Regions from separate parts of the Homo sapiens genome. Here all the other regions are linked to region 3. Evidence: promoter capture Hi-C in 16 types of primary human blood cells and fetal thymus (Javierre and others, 2016). All regions are on one chromosome and are shown on one strand. The core of a region is centred on a gene start or on the middle of the fragment in contact, and the rest is flanking DNA. Distances in the headings are between cores, read along the strand shown.

What was found. Contacts are between HindIII fragments. The CHiCAGO score rates a contact against its expected background, and 5 or more counts as called.
Region 1: a fragment that was not itself captured here is called in contact with the fragment with the promoter of TACR1 in region 3 in 5 of 17 cell types (total B cells, megakaryocytes, erythroblasts and 2 more); the score reaches 8.9 in total B cells.
Region 2: a fragment that was not itself captured here is called in contact with the fragment with the promoter of TACR1 in region 3 in 3 of 17 cell types (megakaryocytes, fetal thymus and naive B cells); the score reaches 7.2 in megakaryocytes.
Region 4: a fragment that was not itself captured here is called in contact with the fragment with the promoter of TACR1 in region 3 in 2 of 17 cell types (naive B cells and total B cells); the score reaches 5.7 in naive B cells.

Annotation. Positions count from the first base shown.
Region 1 is chr2:75,476,243-75,482,600 of GRCh38, reverse strand. No RefSeq gene overlaps it. Among named protein-coding and RNA genes, the nearest start is that of EVA1A-AS, 45 kb to the left of the region's middle. The HindIII fragment of the contact is 1,950 bases long and covers 403-2,352 here.
Region 2 is chr2:75,617,359-75,623,981 of GRCh38, reverse strand. It overlaps LOC124906026 (a long non-coding RNA gene), which reads right to left. Exons shown (of 3, transcript XR_007087115.1): 3 at 1-6,424. Among named protein-coding and RNA genes, the nearest start is that of MRPL19, 26 kb to the left of the region's middle. The HindIII fragment of the contact is 6,046 bases long and covers 1-4,576 here.
Region 3 is chr2:75,197,208-75,203,794 of GRCh38, reverse strand. TACR1 (tachykinin receptor 1) reads left to right here and starts at 4,275. Exons shown (of 5, transcript NM_001058.4): 1 at 4,275-5,249. The coding sequence starts at 4,861. All of the region lies in intron 2 of TACR1-AS1 (TACR1 antisense RNA 1), which reads right to left. The HindIII fragment of the contact is 965 bases long and covers 3,671-4,635 here.
Region 4 is chr2:75,558,819-75,565,061 of GRCh38, reverse strand. EVA1A (eva-1 homolog A, regulator of programmed cell death) reads left to right here and starts at 4,123. Exons shown (of 4, transcript NM_001135032.2): 1 at 4,123-4,382. RefSeq lists a silencer at 4,114-4,173. The HindIII fragment of the contact is 342 bases long and covers 3,014-3,355 here.

The DNA.
Region 1 (6,358 bases), core at 128-2,627, 280 kb before region 3:
TTAGGGACCAGCAAGGCAGCAGGTGTTGCTAAAGACCTCCTTGAGATGCAGAATGCCCACATCTGCTCCTTTGCCTAATGCTGAAAGGATTCAAGAATGCTGGTGTTTCCTGGGTGGAAATAAAACAGAACCCTGGGAATCAACCTGAATCAATCTTGATAGCCTGCAAATGAAAGAGGCAGGCAGTTTATTAATTGAATTTCTCTGCTGTTAATGCTGTTAATGCTGTTAAAGGATATTTAGTCAGGTAATTTCTTATTTGTCATCACAACTAGATTCTAAGTTTTATGAGGTCAATAAATTTTGTCTTGATATTCCTAGCACAATGCCATACCTTAGCATGTGCTCAGTAAACATGTGCTACATGAATGAAGGAATGTTAAGTTTTCACATCCAAAAGCTTTTTTTTGAAATGCAGAGGAAATTTTGGTGTTGTTGCAATTGCTGTACAAGGTGGTAATACTAATTGTATTATTTTGAGTTCTTTTCTGCAAAGCTAATTGAAGTTGCCAAAAGAGAATAAAATGCCTTCTTTTGGTGAAAAATGAACAAATAAATACAACTAACTCTTGGTTATGTCTGAAAATTTCTATTATTTAATATGAAAAAAATCTGTGAAAGGGTAGAATGTTTGTAAAGCACACTTTTTTTTTTAACCCACCAAGATCCCTTGACATAGATTCTGGAGTTCCTACTCGCACTTCAACAAATGTTTACTGAATAATTACTATGTTCAGAACATCAAAAGGATTATGTCCCCTGCCTCAGTCAGCCAGAGAAGATAAAAAAGTGCTTAATGGCTATTTAGCAAAGCATAAATTGGTACGAATGAGACTGAAAGATATGAAGTGTTAGGATTTCCGAGAATAAAGACAAAACTGGCAGCTGGAGAACACAGCCATGGAGCTGCCTCCATTTCCCTGAAGTATTCAGTTTTAGTGAGAATGAAGACTCAGCACACAAAGAAAGCCAAATAAATACACATTAAAAGTAAACATGTATCCGTTAGCCGTCTTTCCTCAAAGCTGAACACTTACACTTCCTGTGTCAGTTGGCAAACAGCAGATGGCAAACAGCAGGTACTCACCATATTTGCCTTCTTTTCTCAGAAAGGCGGCCTTATCAGTACATTCGAGTTACCAGCACACTAGATTATTTATTGTTTACCAAAGCCCTTTGTGGGTAAATAACATATTCTCATATATAAAAGAATCTTCCAAGACCAGAATCTACCATCCTAGATTAACAGAAAATGTCTGTTTGATCCAGGATTTTGGTCCATTTGAAATAATCTTAAATTACTATGTCACTATACCTTTCTGAAATATCCACAGGGATCCTAAAAGTGGGTCCAAAATGTGATGAGAATGCTGACAGAAAAGTGGGGAGTGATGCATTTCATCTCTAGGAAACAGCCAGAGACAGTTTCAGAGATGGAGTAATTTACAGACAGTGAGTAGTTCCTGTTGGCTACAGGCAGAGGGCATGCTAAGTGGAATGGTGGAGAGCACATCTGGCAAGCTAAGTTGGATCTAGTTCCTGGACTTTGAGAACTAACTGGCTGATATGATTGGCTATTTGTCCTTAGGCAGTGGAGAGTATGGAAGGTTTATGAGCCAAAATATGATCAGCACTGTGCTTCAAAAAAAGTTAATCTGGATTGGAAAGAGTAGAGTCTGGTCATAAGGGATTTACCGATACTGAAATAGTTTGGTTGCAGAATCAAGAAGCTCTGACAACTGATTAAATGTCGATGAGAGAGGAGGGTGCAGCCAAAGATGGCTCCAAGAGTTCAAGCCTGTTTTATTTAAACTTTCAATATTATTAAAATTATACCAGTAGAGGCCAGGCACGGTGGCTCATGCCTGTAATCCCAGAACTTTGGGAGGCCAAGGTAGGTGGGTCACCTGAGGTCAGGAGTTCAAGACCAGCCTGGCCAACATGGTGAAACCCTGTCTCTACTAAAAATACAAAAAATTAGCTGGGCGTGGTGGCGGGCGCCTGTAATCCCAGCCACTCAGGAGGCTGAGGCAGGAGAAATGCTTGAACCTGGGAGGCAGAGGTTGCAGTGAGCCAAGATTGCACCATTGCACTCCAGCCTGGGCAATAAGAGTGAAAAAAAAAATTATACCAGTAGAATTAATAACATAGAGGAGTACTGTTACATTTACATAATGTTTTACACGCATTATCTTGTTTAATAGAAATAATGGAGTTGATGAGGGTTTTTTGGGGGCAGTGGGTTATAGCTGACATCTGTTGCTTTTGCCTACTTAGCATACTTTTCCCTTTTACTCATTTTTTTCTATAGATAACTAAGCCTTCCTGCTCTGAGTTTATGTGATTGAAGCTTATCAATAACTCCCCAAATCTTATACTTTAATAGAGCATATTTCCACATTTGAGTCATGCCATTGGTTACAGGTTGGCCAGTGTACTGGGTTAGCCCAGTGAAATTCAATTGTAGGATTTTTTATGAAACTATCGGGAAAGACAAGTTCTCTCCCTTTCTGTAGGTTTACTAAGCCAGTGAAGGAAAGCCTGGGGCTTATGGGAGCTATAACATGGAGACCCTGACCTAGAAAGTCAGTGAGCACATACACACACACACACACACACACACACACACACACACACACACACGTGAGAGAGAGAGAGAGGATGGTGGGAGGGAGTGAGAGAAGAGGTGAGGAGAGCAGACTCAATTTCTGATAATACTGTTTGAGTTCCTGGATGTAGCTCAGGAGTCTTTTGGCTGCACAGGAAAATTTATTACTCTTTTTTCCCATATAAGCCAGTTTAAGTTGCATTTCCATCATTTGCAATCAGAAGGACGCTAGTAACTACAGTGATCATGTGTTTGACTTGAACATATAGAATTTCAGGTCCCAGAATTATATTCCAGTGGACTATAACTCAGAAGAGAAGTTGTAAGCAGGAATACATATTTGAGACTCAGCTGCATGAAAGTAATATTAAATATCTGAGAGTGACTGAGATCCACAAGAGAAAGAATGCAGAGAAAGATGGAAGAGAACGAAGAGCAAGATAATACATAACAACAGGAACTGAGAAAGGCAACTGGAGTAAAGCAGGAAATGGTCCTCAGGGCTAAGTAGAAATCAAGTAGAATAAAGATTCCCACTGGATTGGCAACTGTAGGTCATTGGTGATCACTAAGGTTGTGATTTGTAGAGTCATGTATCTTAAAAATAATTATAAGAGAATAAGATATGAGTTTCCCCTGTATATAATATTTTATTTTATTCTCCATTAGCATTTATACAAGACTCAGTAAGACACTATGTCTTATTCATCTTTAATACTCTGTGTCTGACACCCAACAGGTACTCAATAAATGAAAGGATAAAAAGAAAATTGGGATATGTATGTGTAGAGTGTTTTTATTTATGAAAATGGATTTTGTTAAGGAAAACATGCTACTTACAACACGCTTCAGGCATGTATATATTCTTATATATTCATATAAGAATATGCCTATGGCATGACAGCATCCACAATTTAAAGCTGGTAGTTAGGACTAATAAAGCTAGGTAGCTGCACAGCCCCATGACTGTGAGAGGGCCATAAACCACTAAAGAGGTGAGTTATATACTCAGACATACAAAGTAATCATCACAAAAGGACAAAAACATCTTCCTTTTGACAAGAGAAGAGGAGATGATATGGTTTGGCTGTCTCCCCACCCAAATCTCATCTGGAATTCTAGCTCCCATAATTCCCACTTGTTGTGAAAGGGACCCGGTGGGAGATAATTGAATCTTGGGGGCAGTTTCCCCCCATACTGTTCTCATGGTAGTGAATAAGTATCACAAGATCTGATAATTTTATAAGGGCTTTCCCCTTTCACTTGGCTCTCATTCTCTCTTGCTGCCACCATGTAAGAAGTGCCTTTCACCTTTCACCATGATTACAAGGCCTCCCCAGCCACATGGAAGTGTGAGTCCATGAAACCTCTTTTTCTTTGTAAATTACCCAGTCTTGGGTATGTCTTTATCAGCAGTGTGAAAACAGACTCATACAGGAGACAATCCTACATCATTAAGCTCTTAAATAATGATGGGTAAAATCTTGTCCCTAGATCCATTCTCTATTTTAAATTTTCCTCCTTATTTTAGAAAAGAAATGCATTTTTGGAATAGAATGGAAAATAGGCCCAGTCATGCATGTCAATACCAACCAAATGGCAGTGATGGCCTGGAGTACTGAGTGGAGAATTGTATGGCTCCATGAAAAAGAAATGATGGCTCTGGTTGATTACTCATGTCTGCCATGGTCAATGGAAGTGGAAAGGATCTCTCATTTCATTCAGGTCTCTGCCCAAATAATACCTCATCAAAGGGGCCTTTCCTGGTCATTTTACCCAAAATTATCTTATTTTTATTCATAACACTTAACATAATCCAACATTACATCACTTACGTATGCTTTGATGTCTGTCTTCTCTTCACTGGAATACAAGCTCCACCAAAAGTTCACTGCTGTATCCCCAGCTCCTAAAACAGAGCCTATATTAGTCTGTTTTCATGCTGCTGATAAAGACATACCTGAGACTGGGTAATTTATACAGGAAAAGGGGTTTAAAGGACTTACAGTTCCATGTGGCTGGGGAGGTCTCACAATCATGGTGGAAGGCAAGGAGGAGCAAGTCACGTCTTACATGAGGGGCAGCAGGCAAAGAGAGAGCTTGTGCAGGGAAACTCCCTGTTTTAAATCTATCACATCTCTTGAGACTTACTTGCTATCACCAGACAGCATGAGAAAGACTCACCTCCATGATTCAATTAGCTCCCACTGGGTGGGAATTCAAGATGAGATTTGGGTGGGGATGCAGCCAAAGCATGTCACAGCCTGCCCAACATTTGTTGAATGAATGAATGATATTCATCCTCTGTATTAGCCAAATTGGGCAAAGCTAAAGTTCATCTTTAAGACTGTGTGTATTAGCCCATTTTCACACTGCTATAAAGACTGGGTAATTTATAAAGGAAAGAGGTTTAATTGACTCACAGTTCTGTATGGCTGGGGAAGCCTCAGGAAACTTACAATCCTAATGAAATGCGAAGGGGCAGCAAGCATCTTCTAACTCTTAGAGAGAGAGAGAGAGAGAGAGAGAGAGAGATTGAGAGAGGGAGAGAGAGAAAGAGAGAAGGAGGAACAGTCAAACCCATATAAAACTATCAGATCTTGTGATAACTCACTCACTGTCACAAGAAGAGCATGGAGGAAACAGCCCCCATAACACAATCACCTCCCACAGGTCCCTCCCTTGACATGCAGGGATTATGAGGATTACAATTCAAAGTGAGATTTGGGTGGGGACACAGAGCCAAACCGGTAGAACTCAGATAGTGTGGAACACAAACAGCTATACCCCCCTCAAAAATTTTAAACTATCTTTTACCAGTACTGACTTCCATTGAAAATTAAGTTTCAAGAGCAGACAAACAAGCATGCTTTCCCCTTCTCAGAGGCTATATTTGGAACTAAATTGCTGGACCACCCACAGAGCTGGGGACTGGGGAAGATATATGTGTGTGTTCTGTGTTGGCTCTTTCACCTTAATGGAAGAGCTGTTTAAAAGAAACAACCACAACCTCGAGAAAGAGTGAGAGCAATGAATCATAACATTGCTGTGACGCTAATTTAAGATTCAAAGGGTTTAGGAGGCACAACTGTCAAACAGCAGGATGAGCAATGCTGGGCTGATAAGCCTTCATTATGAATGAGTGAGCACACATTTACCAAGCAGCAGGACAGAAATGCACAAAAGAAGACCTTGGTTAAGTTTATTTCATTGCTCAGGATTTGGGGGCAGGGTGTAAGAATCTCTGAACTAAGTCCCATTTTGGTCCCTCATAACTGAATGCTCAATTTCCCTAGGGGAATCTGTTGTGGAAAGACAGTTGACACTAATTCTTCTCTAGGGGAATGGGTGTTATGTTAGCCAACATCTGGGAGACAGGGGATGCATCAGAATTAGGGAAGAACAATGAACACTAAATGTTAGGGTCAGGACAGAGGTGGGAGCCACAAGCAAGGCCAGTAGGTGGAAATCAAGGAGAAAAATGAAGAGAATGGGGAGGTCTGGCAGGTGTGTTTGTGCCTGTAGTGAATAGTAACAAAAGATTATTATGGAGATTGGGGAAAGACCATAAGAAGAGGTGACTCCATGGCAATATGACTGCAGTCAGGGAGGGGTAAAGGATTGGTGGGTGGGAGAAAATGGACACACGTGTTTCATTTCATCATAATTTATATCTGCATAAACTTCCAAAAAAGTTAAGACAGCATTCAAGAATAGAAATAAATTGTAGTGCAGCTGTTAAAATAGAAA
Region 2 (6,623 bases), core at 304-2,803, 420 kb before region 3:
TCTTTTAGTCTGTTTTAAAATAAATTTGTAGGCATTCTTTGTATATTAGGTATACTAACCTGTGTATCACATGTATTAAAAGTATTTTGTCTGCGCTATCATTTGCATTTTCTTTCTGGTAACTTTTATCATAAACATTAAAAAATGATAGTATAATATACCAATCTAATCATTTATAACTTCTGGATTTTATGTCTTCTTAAGGAGTCCTCATTCTCAAAATTTTACACCAATTCTTCCAATATATAAATAAAGTACCCTCATCACATATGATTTTCTTTTTTTTTTTTTTTTTGTAGTGTTCTTCTTGTCTGTCTTGGTAGGGCACCCAAAGAGATGAGTTGATTCCTTCCTGCAGCCTGGTAGCCACTCAGATTCTTGGAGATGCTTCAGTTGACTGGAGCTTCCTATCTGATTACAGCAGTCCATGTGGGGATGTCAGATGCCAGTGCAGAGCCAGCCTTTGGTGAATGGAGACGTGAATGGGAAAGCAGAGAAGGGAGGCACGGATATGTGGATGTAGCTAGATACTGCATGGAACTCAACCTCCCACAGTGGAAGTGAAGTGGAATAAAGTGGGTGCTGAGGACCCACTTCGGGAAGGCCTCAGGTGCCTGCTGCATGTGGGGTCAGAGTGACTGATGCTTCGTGTCTCCGAATGATAAACCTCATGGAAGGTAGTGAAAGATCAGAGAGTTCTCCCTCCCGATCTGAGAGAATGACTCCTTTCCTTGCTAGTGCCCATAGTGTGGGTGTTTAGATTTTTTCTGCCTTACAAGTGCATGTGATAGAAGAGGCTGCATTTCCTTGTTTCTCTTCCCTCCCAGACATCAGCAACACCTGTGGCCACTCTCCAAGGTGTTGAAGTTGCACCCTGCCCTCTGGCCATGTCCACAGTGCTGAGATACTCTTTAGACACTTACTTCTAGATAAAGACCTTGATACATATTGGGCCATTAGGCAGCTTGTGGATTGCTTTTTGCTTCACCCTAGCTGGCCATATGTGAGATAGGGCACTACTGACGAGCAGCTCTCATTTGGGGGATATAAGATGAGAGGAACACACAGGCTGCTGTGGTTGGTCACCTACTCCCAGTGTTTTTCCTAGTTCTTTGCCTTTCCGACCTAGAAACTCCCACCATCACCTCAATTATCTAGATTCAAACCTTCTGCTGAGCTGTGGAGTAATATAATTCTGCCAAAGACTGTTTGGCTGTATCCTTTGTCTCATTCCTGAAATCCTACACATGAATCTAGCATAGAATGTTTTTGCAGCAGACCTCAGGAGAGCTGCCTTCATCACATAGCAGATGACTAGCCTTGCCTCCCTCACTCTGTCTCTTCTTGCTCAATTCAAGTCCCCATTTTGGAAACACTTCTCTTGCTATGCCTTGGAACCCTCTCCAGAACATGATGCTTCTCTATTTTTCCTTCGGCTCCATTTGCATGGCAAAGTTTGGGCAAGGGTTGCTCATGTAAGTACCTCCTTAGAATCAACTAACCATGCCTACTTCCTGACTAGTTCAGGGAAGGAGTCTATCACAGAGAAGGGGGAACTTTGGAAGGAGACTAAGGAAATACAGGTAGAGGCAGTGGAGAAAAACCAGGAGAGAGCAGTGGCATAGAAGCCAATGGAAAAAAGAATTCCAGGAAGGAAGAAGTTTTCTATCTTTGAAAAATGAAATCTCCCTGGCAGAGCGGATGAGAACAATGGACATTTCAAGGTGCCTGCATGTTTTGTGTTCCTAACTGGAGCAGTGCCTACCAAAGTGGAGCACAGTGGGCAAGGGTACCAGTGGGAGTGGGTCCTACTGGGCAAGGGTAACAGTGGGAGTGGTTCCAGTGGGGAGGAGTATTTTATTGCTGAGATTGTTAGAATTGCTGGCACATGGTGATAATAGAAAGCAGATGAATATTCAGTTGAGTTTATTATTGCTTTTAAATTATTTACACCCAGGCGCTCCCTTATTGCACCCAGGGCAGACCACTCCCATCCTCCATCACCCCCTTAGTACACTGCTGAAATGGAGAAACCCATTACGAACAATTTATTTTGTCCAGAATGGATGAGTTTGGTACAGGCAGAGAGGCCCAGAACTACAAGGAAGGCGAACTCTGCTATTTTCTGCTTAATAAAGCAAGCTATTGATTTTTAAGGCATACCGGAAGAGAGTGACATGCCTGACCTAGAAAACAGAGAAGCAGATAATATTTAGGACGAAAAGAACAGCTAGACTTATGGTGACATACATCTCCACTATCCCAAATTCTGGGGAAAAGCCTTGTGGATTGGCTTGGGTTGGGGTGAATGACGAATCCTGGAAATGGGGTAAAGAAAAGAGACAACCCATCACAGGAAACAAACACAAGTGATATCACGAGTTCATGAAAAGCTAGGACTCAGAGCCAAAGGGACCATGAAGAATCTTGGGAGTCTTGGAGGGGCACTGGACTTCACATGGCATCATGTAGAAGCAGAACCTTTGGAATGTGAGTGTAAAGAGGCAGAAATCCATTTGTTTCTTCCTGGCTTCTCTGTAGTAAGAGGGACAGGCGAGTGGGCCCGGGTGCATTCAGAAAAAGGAAGTGTAGAGCAGGCAGCCCTGGCCTGGCCTCTCGAGGTCTTAAGCTCACATACAGAAGATCCTTGAGGCTGATAGACCAAACAAAGAGATTCACAGTGGAAGCCTACCAGCAACACAGTGTGGGTTTGAATGCTGGGTCCCTTCTGATGAATTTCTTAAGAATCAAACATGGCAGCCAGAGCAGTAGAAACAAATTTGGGATCTTGGTTTCAAACATTAACCACAGTATACCTTCAAAAAAAGTCAGTTGCATTAATTAAAATGACCCAATAGGAGTGAAAAGTAGTGGGAAAAAATAGGATATAAGAACTCAAATTTACATATTTAGAGGTGGGTAGAGTTGGGCTCAAATAGGTCCTGGAGCAATTACTCAGTGGACACATAACAAACAATTACTGAGCAACTACTTTGTGTAAAACATTACACTAGGGACTAGAAATAAAAAATTTCTTAAGACCTTGTTCTTAACCTGTGGAGTTTCTGTTACAGAGCATGTCATTCTGACATGGGGCGAGTTGTGCCCTCCCCCAATTTTTTCTTCTCTACCAGGATTTCCTGACCATCTTTCAAGATCTTTCTTGATGAAACTACCCAACAATGCCATGAAAAAAAAATAGCTCTATCCCTCTTTGCTTCTAAAGACTTCTTTTAAACTCATATCATCTAAACTTTATTGCTGTTTCTGTACTCGTCTTCCTTGGTAGACAGTGTAGAAGAGAAACATTTTGTGTTGTTTAGATTTGAATCTGTTAGATTCATGATGTTTATTAACATGTGTGCATTGACCCATAAGTGGGGTGTGAAATTGGTAGATTTTTGACTGGTACTTTAAAAAACTGGAGTAGAAGAGAACGGAAACTGTCAAAGTGATTCACACATTAAGAATGAGTAATGCTTCATGAAATTTGTTTCTATTATTTATGTGAGTGTCTTGAGTCACAATGTAAAATATTTTTACTAAGGATCATTTAAAAAATCAATAAAACACTGGAGGCTCAGTAATTTGGGATAGACTATAGGAAGAAACCTAGACCTAGAGATTCTGAAGTTTTCAGATTATAAACAGATCTATACTATACATAGAAAGCAATGGGTTACACAAGTTTATAGCTTAAGTAAACCAATAAAATAGCAAACATGTCTATACATTAAGGCAGGAGTCAGCAAACTATTTCTGTAAAGATAGTAAATATTTTAGGTTTTATAGACTATAAGTTTCCTGTCACGACTCTGCAACTCTACCATCATAGCACAAACGCAGCCACAGATGATGTGTAATGGAATGACAATGGCTGGGTTCCAATAAAATTTGAATTTTACATAATTTTCATGTGTCAGGAAACAGTCTTTTGATTTGTTTCAAGCATGTATGAATGTAAAAGCCATTCTTAGCTCATGATGTTTTAAAAGATAGTGTATTAATAGAAAATTTGAGCTCCAGGAAGGCCAACAGATTGAGAGATGATTGCCTTCAAAAACAGTTTGTCGACCAGGCGCAGTGGCTCATCCCAGTAATCCCAGCCCTTTGGGAGGCCAAGGTGGGTGGATCATTTGGGGTCAGGAGTTTCAGAGCAGCCTGGCCAACATGGTGAAACCCTGTTTCTACTAAAAATACAAAAGTAGCTGGGTGTGGTGGTGCACACCTGTAGTCCCAGTTACTCAGGAGGCTGAACTAAGAGAATCACTTGAACCTGGGAGATGGAGGTTGCAGTGAGCCAAGATCGCACCACTGCACTCTGGCCTGGGCAACAGAGTGAGACTCTGTCTCAAAACAAACAAACAAAAAAGAAGAAAGAAAACATAGTTTGTGACTTGTTACTCGCAGCTCCCAAGAGAAGGAGGCATGTCACACCTTGGGGGCCCACACAGGGCCTGTGTGTTGGAAGCATTGGGGCTGGTCAGGAGGCAAAGGGGGAGGGAAAGATTGCTAGAGCCTTTATTGTGATTTTTGTGGAAAGGAATGGAGTAAGCTAGATATGCAGGTTTAAGCTTGGCTGGTTTGAATAATTACAGTGGGCTCTGGGGATAAAAACTATGCCTGGTTGTCTGATACCTGGTCCTGGGGTAATTAGGGCAGGTGGATAAATGCCTGGAGTGTGAAAGCTCAATAAAGGAGATGATTGGGGTTGTGGGCTCTGGATTTGGTTGGTTTGTATTTGAAAATCACACTCATGGGTGAGTTCATCTTTAGGAGTTAGCTAATCCTAGGAGAGGCAATCTCCAGTGTTACCAAGGCTCCAGATGTCAAAGCCTCAGAATATAGAAAAGATGAGGTTAATACACATGGGCTGTGTACAAATAGGTGATGGGCTGGGTTTGGCTCATGGGCTATAGATTGCCAACCAATGGGCTAAGAGAAGAAAGATAATGTCAAATACCAAACATGCAGTTGTAAAAAATAAATTAAGAGTAAATTAGGAATATCTCATGAAGCTTCCTATCTTTGCTAGTAAACACTGAAGAAATTGTTATTTATCATAAACACTGAGCATCTCTAATCTGAAAATCCAAAAGCCTAAATTCTTTGAGCACTGACACGACACCACAAGTGGAAAATTTCACAGCTCATCTCATGTGGTGGGTCCCAGTCAAAACACAGTCAACACTTTGTTTCATGCACAAAATTACCTAAAATATTGTATCAAATTAACTTCAGCCTAGGTGTACAAGATGTGTATGAAACATAAGTGAATTTTGCGTTTAGACTTGGGTCTTATCCCCCAAGATATCTCATTCTGTAAATATAAATACTTCAAAATCTGAAAAACCTCAAATCTGAAACATTTCTGTCCCAGAAATTTCAGATAAAAAATACTCAACCTATAATAAGAAACAGCCTGTATCCACTTAAACTTAAGGAAGACTTTTCCCTGATTTGGCCAATTATTCTGTTCATTCTGCTCCTGTAGCCCCCAAAACATAAATATTTCCTAACCTGCTCTTTTCTTATCTTCACTGAGAAGGGAAATAGCCAGAACAGACACAGAATTCTCCGAGTGTTTAGCGTCACCCTGAATATATCTTCCCAAGCCCTGTTTTAAAATAGTAGTATGATCTCTTTTTTGTGTTCTCATAATTTTACCCAAGGCTAAATTAACATTTTTGGAGCTTCTAATCTAATTATACCATTGTGAATTCCTTGAGGGCAAGGATGATTTTTTTTTCTTATTACTTCCTTCTCAAATTCTCTCACTGTCTTCTCATTGCAGTTGGGGGGCAATCCCATGTCTGTTCATGGCCCTACACCCTCCCCAATCTAGTGCCTTTCCCTCCCTGTTGTTTCAGATGCATCTCTTGACAAGTTCTCCCATTTTCAGTAGCCATGTTGTTGGTCTTCTGATGGAGAAATGTGTTGGGCCTTTTTATTGGCTGTTCTTTCCATCTGCAATAACTTCCACCCTGTCCCCATCTCATTCCTAATTCTTGAGGTCTTATCCTTCTCATCAGATTGTTTCCCTGCAAGTCTTTCCCTCAGCTGCCTGTGATCTTCCTTCATAGAACATTTTACAGTTTGTATCTGTACAATTATAAATGTCATCACATTCTGATGCTGGTCTCTTCCATCAGGCCTCAGGTCCTTGAGGGCTGAGGGCCTGGTACATAGTAGCGACTCAATAAACATTCATGGAATGAATGAATGAGCAAAAGCAAATGCAGGGCCCCTTGAGGAACAGTGAGGAGTCTGGAGCGCAGGGTGAAGAGTGATCACTGTGCTGTGTATATTGGTTCTCAGATATTTCTATTAGTTTTGCAATCCTCATTCATATTTGACAGCATTTTGAAGCAATAGCAGCCTAGCAGAAAATGCTTCATGCAAACTCGGTGAAAGAATTCTCAGCCTGTATAGGAAGATAAGGAATCGGACAGAACTTTAGGGCATTTTAATGATGATCATAGGTGTGCATGTGGGGGTAGGGCAAGACCCCTCAGTGATGATCTCGCCACTCAGAGAGCAGGAGAAGGTGAGGCTCATAATCCTTATTTAGTGTAGTTTGGCAAAACTCTTCATAAACACTGTTATGGTTTGAATGTGTTCCT
Region 3 (6,587 bases), core at 3,026-5,525:
GGAATGTAAATTAGTTCAGCCATTGTAGAAAGCAGTGTGGCAATTTCTCAAAGAACTTAAAACAGAATTACCATTTGACCCAGCAATCTCATTATAGGGTATATACCCAAAGGGATACAAATTGTTCTACCATAAAGATACATGCACTGATATGTTTATTGCAGCAACTATTCACAATAGAAAAGACATGGACTCAACCTAAATGCCCATGAATGGTAGTACACTGCATAAAGAAAATGTGGTACATATTTGTATATATACCACATATATAAATGTGGTATATATATACACGTGTAAATGGAATACTACACAGCCATAAAAAAGAACAAGATCATGTCCTTTGCAGCAATATGGATGGATCTGGAGGCCATTATTCTAAGCAAACTGAAGCAGGAACAGAAAACAAAATACTGCATATTCTCACTTATAAGTGAGAGCTAAACGCTGAGTACGTATGGACACATAGAAAGGACAACAGACACTGGGCCCTACTTGTGGCTGGAGGGTGGGAGGAGGGTGAGGATCAAAAAACTACCTATCAGATACTAAGTTTATTACCTGGGTGACAAAATAATCTGTCCACCAAACCCCTGTGACACAAAATTTATCTATATAACAAACCTGCACGTTACTCCTGAACCCAAAATAAAAGTTTTTTAAAAACCATGCTGGTGTCTGTGTATGTGCAAATATATGGGCAAATTGCAAATAATTCATGTTTTCGCTTTAAAAAGTAATACATGAAGTTGGTATAGACTCTTAGTTATTTGTATAAAATATAGGAAATAATTCAAAGAAACAAAACTTTATTTAAAACTTTTAAAAATAAACAAATATGAATAGAAACTCACAACATATATATGCATATGCATAGGAATATAAATATAATCTACTTCCCAGCAATTCCACTTTGAATCTACCCCCATAGAAAGAAAACACCAGGATGTAGAGAATGTTTATTGTTAATTGCCTTTAGTGACAAAAACTGGAAACAAAGTTAATTTTCATGAATAGAGAATTGAATGTATAAATTACGGTGTATCCATAACATAGAAATAATATTTAACCACTGAAAAATGAGTTAAATCTATACCTGTTGACTCTGAAACAGCTGGGCAAAGTTTAGAGTGGGAAAAACAAAATACAGACAACAATGAAAGTCCTATATTTGCATTTACATGTGTGAATATTATGTATGTTTGTATTTCCATCTAGATAGTATCAAAGAGTCTGGACAAATAAGGAAGGATTTATACTACATTGTTAACAGCGTTTACTTTAAGATGTGTGATCCTGTGTTGAGTGTCAAGGAAGATGTTCAGTGAAAAGAGGAACGAAGGGGGAAAAAGGATAAGAAAACAAGAATATCAGCTCTTGGAGGGAAATAGCATGTATAGAATTTTATCTATATATTTGTGCAAAGCTGTAGGGGGAAAATTCATTACTTTATAGATGGGTGATGCTAGATAAAGTGTCTCCTCATATCATAGGTATGAACCAAAAACAACTTCTGCTACTGTATAGCTGAGGCTTTTTTTTTTCCTCAATGGTGAACCCATCATGAATATGCTTTTTCTTTTTAAGAAGAGAAACTAGCTTTAGCAAGTCATAAGGATTCCTAAGATATGGCTACCAGCCATGAAAATCCCGGAGTAGAAAGAAAAACAACCCCAAGTCAGACTCATCAACACATCAGAGTTGAAGGCCAGGGTAAGGAACGTAGGTGTCCCAGTGCCTGGCACCAGTTCCACCATTTGAGGTGGCTTTGGACTGGCATACAAAGCCTCAAAGTTAGCCGAGGGCTAGGCAGGATGGAGGCAGGGAGAGAAGGCGGGCTGACCTGCGCTCCAGTCCCTATGCAAACCTGGAAGGTGAGCAGGGAGAAGAACCCCTGATGCCACCCAGGGCCCCGCTCTGACCTGCAGGCTCATAGGTGGGCAGTCATTATGGGACTTTAAGCAGAGTGACAAGGTTTGATTTATAAAACTTCAGCCTGAAATATTCGCCTTTTTTCCACCCTCAACCTCTTCCCATCCTAACTCATTCTTCAGGCTTCTTCATGGATGAGATTTTCTTCCATCTGTACGGATACCCCTCATTGTTTAGGTTAGGTGGCCTCCCTCTTCTCTCCTCACTCAGGGCTTAGTACCTTTGGTCATCATAATACCGCCCATTTTGTATGGTTCATTGCTTCTTGTTTGTCTTCCTCCATACTGTAAGTGCTTGTTCACCCCCCAGCCCCAGTGCCCAGCACAGTACCTGCTTCAAAATATCAACTTGCTGTACTAATGGAGGATAAATGGATTAATGTTTACTTTTTAGCTATTTCATATTTATTTTATATTTAGCTCTTATTACATATTTAGATTTTATTCGATTAGCTTTCTTTTTCTCCCTTAACCACTGAATAAAGTTCCTTTTGAAAACGTCAGCCTGGCTCTAATGGACAGGGAGAAAAAAGAAAAGATAACTTTAAACAGCTTGGAAGGAAAATTAAAGATAGAGAAGTTTCCCCTCCCCCCTCCCCCACCCTCCGCATCCCCTTCCCTCTCCCTTTTCCTCCCTCTCTCTGTCAGCTCTTTGAGATGGTGGAAGCCTCAAGCAGAGATCCAAGGTGGAGGAGGCATTCCCTTCCACAAAGAAGACCTCTTGTGCAGCCGCTCTAAATAAAGGGACGCTGTTCTCTTGAAAGCATCTCTAGAGTTTTCTATGCAGTGTGTTTACGGGTGCCTAGGAGAACCTGGCAAAGCAATGTGCGGTTCCTATATACGCTAAAATCCCAGGCTCCGAAAAAATACAGAGTGAAACAGCAGATTCTCCTCCCCGGCGTGGGATCCAATTTTTGCCCGGCATAAGTGTATAGTAAATTTCCCAGCCTTAAAGCACTTCCCGAGAGATGCTTTGAGCGCTCGCGGTACCAGTGCGTAAACGCCGCTCCCCGGCTGGCGCGGGTGTGCGCCAACTCCAACCTGCGCGCAAGTCTGCCGGTGCGCGCTCCAGTCCCACAGCTCCGAGTCCCCGCAGTGAAAGGAGGGGGCGGTGCACCGGGGTAGATGGGCCCCTGAGGACTCCCGGGGTTCAGTTTTCCGCGGAACTCTGCCTGCAGCAGTCTGGCGGGAACGTGCTGCGGAGCTCATCCCATCTTGGCTTCTCCAAAAGGGTTTATACGGACTGGCGAGTCTTTGCCCTGCCTCCTCCAAGTGTCTGGCACCAGTTCTACCGTTTGAAATGGTCTTGGACTGGGATACGAGGCCTCAAAGTCAGAAGACGGCAGGGCAGGATGGAGGCGGGCAGAGAAGGCTGGCTGACCTGTCCTCCAGCCCCTATGCAAACCTGGAAGGGGAACAGGGAGAAGGACCACCGATGCCACCCCGAGCCCGGCTCTGGCCTGCAGGCTTGGCAGGCGCGGAGGCGGAGGCTGCCAGGTCCCCGGGAGGCAAACGCAGCGCCGCAGTGATTGCTGGCGGAGAGCCCAGAGCCGCGCGTCTGAGCGACAAGCTGCCTATGAGTGTGGCTCCTGCGCTCACCAAGATTCGCAGGGAGCTCAGCCCTGTCCCCAGTGATTGAGCAGAGGCTCATCCAGAGGGGTCAGGTGGAGGGCTCAAATGGAGCTTCTCCTGGAACGAGGGGCCAAGTCACCAGGGTGGCTGAGGAAAGTGTCCTCAAAGCTTAGAGACTGTCACTTCCCAGGTGAATCAGCTAGCCAGGTAACTGAGCTAGATATTTTGTGGGGGTGTTTCCTAAACACAGCCTCAGGAAAGTTGTTTTCGGGACACCTGGACCAGGGAGTCGTCGCCTCTGGCTTCTCGGTAGCTGGAGCGCGGCCCGGAGCGCGGCGCTGGCACATCGCCCCCACACATGACCGTTTCCCATTGCCACAGGCAAGCCGCCTCTGCAGAGCTGTCTCAGGGCTCTGGGCTTCATTCCCTGGAAGTTGATTGTCCTCCACTCCAGCTGTTTCCCAAATCCTTCCTTCCTCCCAGCACCCCTCGTGCAACGACGATTCCAGCTGCGGACCGCATCTGTGTCAGTTACTTCCAAGCCACCTACTGCCCCCTCGCGGAGTGCGTGGGGCTCCCGGCTCGCAGACTCCCACGGCAAGTAGCAAGCAGCAAAAGGCGTGGTAGCTGCGGCGGTGGAATGAGACAGTTGTCAACAGCTGGCGCAGCTGCCGCGCTGCGCACCGGGACTGGCGAGTACGCAGCCCAGGTACTGCCCCTTCCCAGTGACGTCTCTGCAGGGGGTTATAAAAGCCTCGTGCGCAGCTAACTCGCGAGCTGAGCAACCCGAACCGAGAGGTGCCCGCGAAACTGCAGGCGGCGGCAGCGGCAGCAAAAGAGAAGGAAAAATCTCCAGCTGGATACGAAGCTCCAGAATCCTGGCCATAGGCTCAGAACTTTTACAGGTCGCGCTGCAATGGGCCCCCACTTCGCTCCTAAGTCCTCACGCAGCACAGGGCTTTGCCTTTCCCTGCGGAGGAAGGAGAAATAGGAGTTGCAGGCAGCAGCAGGTGCATAAATGCGGGGGATCTCTTGCTTCCTAGAACTGTGACCGGTGGAATTTCTTTCCCTTTTTCAGTTTACCGCAAGAGAGATGCTGTCTCCAGACTTCTGAACTCAAACGTCTCCTGAAGCTTGAAAGTGGAGGAATTCAGAGCCACCGCGGGCAGGCGGGCAGTGCATCCAGAAGCGTTTATATTCTGAGCGCCAGTTCAGCTTTCAAAAAGAGTGCTGCCCAGAAAAAGCCTTCCACCCTCCTGTCTGGCTTTAGAAGGACCCTGAGCCCCAGGCGCCAGCCACAGGACTCTGCTGCAGAGGGGGGTTGTGTACAGATAGTAGGGCTTTACCGCCTAGCTTCGAAATGGATAACGTCCTCCCGGTGGACTCAGACCTCTCCCCAAACATCTCCACTAACACCTCGGAACCCAATCAGTTCGTGCAACCAGCCTGGCAAATTGTCCTTTGGGCAGCTGCCTACACGGTCATTGTGGTGACCTCTGTGGTGGGCAACGTGGTAGTGATGTGGATCATCTTAGCCCACAAAAGAATGAGGACAGTGACGAACTATTTTCTGGTGAACCTGGCCTTCGCGGAGGCCTCCATGGCTGCATTCAATACAGTGGTGAACTTCACCTATGCTGTCCACAACGAATGGTACTACGGCCTGTTCTACTGCAAGTTCCACAACTTCTTTCCCATCGCCGCTGTCTTCGCCAGTATCTACTCCATGACGGCTGTGGCCTTTGATAGGTGAGATTAGCCTTTGTGAAAAGGCGAGAAAGTGCTCATAGAGGACCACGGCATTGCTGTGAGGTTTGGAACTGGGTGGGGTATGGGTCAAGTGGAAGATTGGCCACTCTGAGGGTTTTTTTACTGATCAACTGAGTCATTTGTTGATGGGGAACTTCATCTTATGTATTTCAACTTTTTTTCCTCTTTTTTACCCATCACTCTCTCTCTTCCTTTCAACACACATCCCCCTTTTCTTCATTTAACTCCCCTTTCTTCATCTCTTCTCCACTCATCTTCCTGACACTTTCAACTTCTGCTTTGCTCCTTTCCATATATTCCTTCTCCCCTTTACCCTTGCAGGCTGCAAACAATACCTAGGGTTTGGTCAAAGGACTAGACCCTGGAAGGGGCTTTGTAAATTCCTCCAGGCCTGTTTTTCTGTCAGACAGCCTCTTGTTGCCTTCCTGTTTTAAGTACACCTAGAGGATTCTGGGACTTTCTGCTCCCACTGCAACTCTCCAGTTTGTTGTTGTAGTTGTTGTTGTTGTTTGGTTGGTTGGTTCGTTGGTTTGTGTTTGTTTGTTTGTTTGTTTTGGATGTGAAAGAGCATTTCATCAGTATCATAAGATACTCAGAATTCTAATGCAGTTTACTCTGTAATGCTAGGAATTCTCATTCAGGAATGAGAGACAGTTATGCTATCCTTAAGAAACTCCACGGATAGGGATCCAGGAAGCTTACCCAAGAGGTGTTCTAAATTTCTCCTGCAATGTAAAATGTATGTATTTAGCCTGTCTCTATCCACAGAGAAACATGCTTGGCAAAGGCATTTGAGAGCTCTTCTGTTCCGGCAACCAACAGGTTAGGGTTCCCAAAGCTGACTGAAAGTGAAAAGGTTGGCATTTCAAACACTGGGGATGGTATTCTGGAATGAATGGCTCTTCAGGTAGCATGATGGAAAATTGATTATTGGAGCACAGCTCTGTTGGTATTGTCTCCTTTGTGAGTATCTTAGGTCTCCAATGTGTATGTCTATGTGTGCACAGGTGTTAAATGTTTACCTGGGATGTGAAAGTATGCTTAAAACACCTACCACTGTGATTTTAAAATGGAGTCTTTTGATGTCCTTCCTGAGATAACTGAATGTGAGAAACCCAAAGAAGGAGCTAGGAGAAAACTTCAAAAAAAATTCCAAACTACTAACCCTCTTTGCATAAAGATTGTTTATAACTTGCAAATTATTAGAAGTCTTTTTTAGCTCCTGTAGTCAATGAACACTTTTAAAATCAGGGAAATCTTCATTTCCATCCTTTGCAGTGGTGTCCAAATACTGATTTGTTAGTTCCCTGTACATCT
Region 4 (6,243 bases), core at 1,935-4,434, 360 kb before region 3:
TGAGGACATATCGGGACATATTCTCACTGCAAGCATCTTGTGGTGCCTTTGGCAGCTCATCATTTTTGGGTAAACCATAGGAGTCTAAGGGTTTCACCTTCACTCAGCTGGTGACTCAGTTTGTTTTTGTTTTTGGCTGCCTTTGGGTGTTGTGCCTTAGTTTGTTCATCAGTAAAATGGGGGTAATCAAAGTCTGAGGTTGTATTTCTGTTTGAAGCAAAAACTAGTAAATATTTGCCACAATGAGCTTGTGTAAAATCATCAAATTACTGCTATGCAAATGCAGATGGAGTTTTGGAAGCAGAAGCAATAGGAATGTGGCTAGAGTCTTGTCTAACAGTAGCTGATCGGTGGTGCTCAGTGGTGTCATGGGTGGAACACGATCCTCCTATCAAATCTTGTCATCACGACATTTGCGCCACTGAGGGAATGCCACAGCCTCCACTCACTGAGAATTAAAACTATCACATCTTTGTATTAGCTGAAGGGGCCCTGGCTTCTAGACTTTTTCCATGAACTGGATGTGCTGTTGGCCACAACATCAGTGTGGGCGGATTGTGGTTCCCTGCTCTGACCACCAGCGCCATGGGAGCCCTGTGCACTCTGCTGGCATTACCTGCCCACATCTGCAAGGCTGCTCACACTGAGAGCCCCAGCTATCAGCCTTGGGCCGAGAACCGGGCATGAAGTGGTTACTTGAGATCCTGAGCTGCAGATCCTAGTTTCCTGGGATGAACCCTTTTCTTCCTCTAATTCTTCATCTCTGGTTAGAACTGGAGCTGTACGCTGTGCCTGTGCACATGGACTCCCTACTCCTCTGCCCTTCCTGTATCAGCCTGTGCGTTCCAACCTCTCCTGTGTTCCCTGACCACCTCCACCCTGAAGGTCTATCCAGCAGACCCTATGAGACCAGGATAGGGAGCTTCAAAAGGTAGCCATTGAGAATTTGCCCTAGTCTAGCAGAGGCTTAATGCCCCTTTCTCACATCTGACCTAAGGTCTTAATTGATATTTGGCACTGTTCCATAAATATGTCTCCCTAGAAATGGAAAATAGCTATTTCCCTCTTTTATAATAATTTTGCCATTAATGAAGCAATGGGCCCTCTCATCTTAGAATAAATCACCCCAGTGTTCAGTTTCTCTTAACAGTCTGTGGGTTATCTCTCCTCATCTCCTCTCAGCCTAGAGTGTCAAGCCACACACGGTACCTTCAAAAAAGAGCAATCAAAGACAACTTATTTTGTGGGTAGGAAAATGAGGCACAGAGAGTTTTGATGACTTGTAACCATAACAAGCGAATGGGACTTGAAGTGAAGATTCTTGCCTCCATAGAATGGGGGTGGGCAGAGGTGGTAGACAGGAACAACAATGCAATAGAATGTATACTTAAGAAACGGGCTACAGAGATGAACAGATCTTCATGTTGTTCCAGTTTTCTTATTTATAAAATAACAGAACAAGAATACTTAGCCAATCAAGATGCTGTGTTGATTAAAAGAAATGTATGTGGAAAGGATTGGCGTAGAGTTCGGTATCTATGAGGCTCTCATTAAAAGCATACACACACACATGAACACACGTGTGCATGCAAGCATGAAGTTAGTAGCTTTGAGGGGTTCCTTTCCAAGGTGCAGCCATAACCCATAGGTCCTCTGACATAGCTCCTGGTAGAATCTACCTCTGTAGGATCCTTAAGTAGTCATTTATCTCAATGTTGGCCTTCATGCAGGGATGCATGTTCTGGAGAATGACCCGTAGGAACCCCAAGAGGGGCTCTCAGGCTAGCAACGGATGCACTTCTGTCCTGCTGCACAACCAGAAGTAGATAATCTAGATGGCAGCTCTAGTCTCTCCATACCTGTGATTCCTGAAATCTGTTGAAGTGTAGGGGGTTCAACAGTATCTGCTTCATTTTAATAAAATGAGGCAATGTTTATAAGTGAGACACAGCCCAGTGACTGGCACGTACTAAGTACCAACACATATTAGCAGTTCTTAGTAGTGGTAGTATTTTTAAATCCAAAGGTAGATTGGGTCAGAGTGCTTCCAGGTGTCCTTTCTCCAGCCTGGGGGCAAATAAGTAGGCTCAAGATTAGGGCCCATCTATAGAAAGTCTGTGCTCACCTATTGGCACCTGTGCCCTATCTATTTATTTCTTTACTAATTAGTTCATTCAACACACATTTACTGAGCACTGATTGTATGTGTGCTCCTGTACTCGGCACACAAACCTCTGATCTCTGATATTCGTACAGGGCTGTGCCCTTGGCTAACACACGTAGTATTACATCAGGAAACCCCGCTTCTCATCACAGCCTCTCCATATGCCTGCTGGAAAGCTGGAGAGTTAGGGGGAGCTCTGATGATGGCCCTTGCATGCCAGAGTGTGGAATTTGGAGTCAGGCAAGTATGTATTCTTTTTACAGATAAGGAAACAGAGGTCGGAGAGGGGAGTACTTTCTCAAGTTCAGAGAGTAATTTAGTGCTGTCTGAGGCTAGAACCTTGTTCCCTGATTAGTTTAGGAAACAAGGGCCCTTTCTACCAGACCAGTTGCCTCTGCATGAGAGTGGAATAACCTGTCTTTACGTTTTCATCTACAGATAGGTGTTGTTTTCCTTTTGAAGAGCAGCATTTCAAGGTAAAATGAAGTAGCTCTTGAGTAAGTCTGAAACAGTGGCTCTCATCTCTGGCTGTATGAGATCATCTTGAGAGCATCTGAAAAAAAACTGATGTGGGAGCTCCACCCCAGACAATTACAGAAATATTTGTGAGGGTGGAGCTGGGGCCACCTATTGGTTTTTAAAGCTCCCCAGGTGTTTCTAATAGACACCCAGGGCTCCATAGTCTAATATACAATCAGTCCAATATACAGCATAATATACAGTCAGTGGTCTAGCAGCCAGTGCTTCCAAATTCTAATGCACATTTGAATCATCTAGGGATCTTGTTAAGCTGCAGATACTAATCCAGTGGTTCAAGTGCGGCCCGAGGGTTTTCATTTCCATAAAGCTTCCATGTGGTGTTAGTACTGCCAGTCTCTGGACCACACTTGGAGTAGCAGCTCCAGAAGGCACTCTGGGATTCTAGTCATCCACGTGGTCACTGGCTACTCTAGCCAGAGGCCTGGGAGTCACCTCTCTCCTTCATCCTCTCCTCATCTTCTCCCTTTCAAGCCCTTGGTCATCAGATCTTGTCAGTTCCATCACACTGCTTCTAGGAGCTCCTCTCCTTTCCTAACGGACTGGCACAATATTTTCCTCCCTGTTCCCCACCATCACTCACTGCCCTGGCTGTGCTCTTTGCTAGACCGCCTCCTGAAGGCTTTCTTATTCCGTCTTCCCTCTGTCCAAGCTTTTATTTTGATTCTGTAGAAGGCTCTTTCACTCCGTGACCCATCTCTTAAGAGACCACCGCAACCCGGGACCTGTTCTCTCCCTGCACTCTTCCCCTATGACGATTGTATAGGAACAGGGTGTCCCTCTAGTTGTTTCTGCGTTTCCAGCCCCCAGCTGAGCGCCCATCACTCTCAATAAAATACTTGTTGATTTTAACAAACAAAACCCCAACCCTGAAAGAGAAAGGCCAAACAGAGGCCTCAGCTGCATTTCTTCCGATAAAAATGAACATTCCTTCGAGATTATGCATCAGGCTTTAACTTCCCACTCAGAAAAAAAAAAAAAAAAAAGTTGATCAAATTTAACAAAGTAAGTGGTTATTTCCTGTCTGAGTTGAGTAGCTGAATACAGGCTCAAAGCAGGCGACGGGACAGGAATGAGAGGATGGATGCTGGCAGGGGCTTGGAGGTCTGCTTTCAAATCTGGGCTCGTCCCAGCAGGGGGAAAGCCTGGAGGACCGGGATAGGTTGGGGACTGCCGATGGGGAACCTCCCCGGTCCTGCGGACAGTCGGCAGCGCGGGGAGGCAGGCAGGAGTTGGGAGCGTGAACTAACTTGGCGCGGAGGGAGGTGCCGCACGCCGCAGCCGTTCAGGTTTCGCGTCTTGCGGGCGCCCACATGGGCCGCTGGCTTGCAGAAGGGGGCGGGGGAGAGGGAGGGCAGGTCCGGAGCCAAGCGGGTGGAGGAGGGGGGAGATCGAAGGAAATGAGACAACCTTTTCCTCCCACTGACTCGGGCTCCTGCAGCTTCTGCGGGGCTTGGCGCCGCCGTCCGTGAGCACCCAGGCCGGGACCCCACATCCCCAGGCCAGCCCTGACCCCGGCGGCCCCTCCGCCGGGATTCCTTTCCGAGGTACTGGTGCCGGCCCAAGACCCGGGCAGCGCTTTGTCGTGTCCGCCCCTCAGTGATCAGCTCCGGGTCCCCCTGCTCGGCCCCGCGCGCCCCAAGCGCAGTCCCCGGAAGTGCGCGCCGGGGCCCCAGCAAAGGTAAGAGGTGCCCGAGAGCGCTCCCTGAACTCTGGGGGCGCCCGGCATCCCCAGCGGGCTCCGGCTTCTCCGAAGCGCCCTCTTTTCGGAAACACCCAGAGCACTTCTGACCTGAAGCAGCTGCTTTGTTCCCAAGTCCCTGCCCAGGTGTTGTAGGCTGGGTCCCACAGGGAACTCTGCTTCCCAGCGCTTTCTTTTTTGCCTCCTCTTCCTCCCACTTTCCTGTTTCTTCTCTCGCCCCCCCTGCTTCTTTCTGGATAGAACAACTCTCAACTCCCTGCCTCTGCAGCCCAGCTTCGGAAAGCAGGTCGTTCCCAAATCTAGCGCTTCTCTCCTGTGCCTCTGGGAGCTGGGCTGAGCCTGACTGGCTTCTATCCCAAGCCTGCGCGGGGCGGACCTGCCAGAAATGTACGTGCTGCACCGTGGACTATTTACCTGGTTTGTTTCGGAGGCAGCCAACTCGCCGCGCGCATTTGGCGACCCCCAGGACCCCGAAAGCCGAGTGCATCAGGGAGTGAAAGGCTGTTGGCGCCCCCTAAAGTCCCAGTGGGACGCTTTGCTTTTGGAGAGGGGCGCGCAGACAGTCCACGCTGCTCTATCTGGGAGGTCTGCGTGGGGGTCCCCACCCCTACTATTGAGGGGTAAGGGGAGGTGTTGGCACGCAGTACGGAGCGCGTTGGGACATGGAGGAAATGAGGATGTCCTGGAAGGAGAGGAGTGCCAACCACATCGTGCTGGCTTGCCATGTTGTTCTTATTAACTGCCTGAGTTCTCATAACAAGCCTGTGTGTAGGGACTCTTACCCCTATTTTACAAACGGGCAAAATGAGATGGGGCCACACAGCTAGCTAGGAAAGGGCCCAGCCAGGATTTGGGTCCTAGCTGGTCTATACCACACATACACTTCAAGTCCAGCCCTACAGAAGATTCTTCTTTTTAGTCTGAGCAAGAACCGTCCCCCCAACTCCCCCGCCCCCCCCCCACCTCCTTTCTCATAGTACAAGGGACCAGGCTTTTTCCGTTTTGACCTAATATACCTTGATTATATTCAAACCCAAACTACTTATTATCTACTGTCCTCTGAGTTCAGCGGCAAGCACTGAGGTTTCACCTTTGAATCTTATTAATTCATCCCCTTCTTGTCATCCAGTCTGTCACGAAATGTGTAATACTGTTCAGAAGGCTGGCTTGAATCTCCTTTCCATAAAGGCAGTCAAGCGCAGTGGCTAAGAGCCCGGGCCCTGGAGTGAGACCACCAGCTTGAATCCTGGCTGGGGCCTTCCTGTACCTTTCTGTAGCTGGATTTCCTCATCTGTAAAGCAGGGATGCTAGGGCTTAAAGTAATGGTTTTCAACGGAATTTTGATTTTACTTCCCAAGTGACATCCAGCAATGTCTGGAGACATATTTGGCTGTCATCATGTAAGTAGAAGAGGATCTTATTCATCTGGTGGGTAGAGGCCAGGGATGCTGCCACATCCTGTATTGCACAAGACATCTCCCCCCTCCCCCACTCCGCTTCCAAGATTTAAGAATTATCTAGCCTAAAATGTTAATAGTGCTGAGGTTGAGAAGCCCAGGTTTAATGTTTCACTTCATGAAGAGTGCCATTATTTCCAGCTCTCATCCTTTTATCTGCTCTAGTTTGGCTGATTATACCAGTCTCTGTCCCAGTCTTTCCCTCCATTCCAGTGCCAGAATTCTGTTGCCAAATCCACAGCAGGTCATGCGGCTATATTGCCTTAGCACCCTTGTTGGTCCCCTATTGCTAGCAGAAGGGATGGGAATTGGGAATCTGCAGGTGTTTTACAAGCACTGAAGGTAATTCCTCTGCATGTTAAAGTTTGAAAATCACTGTCTTT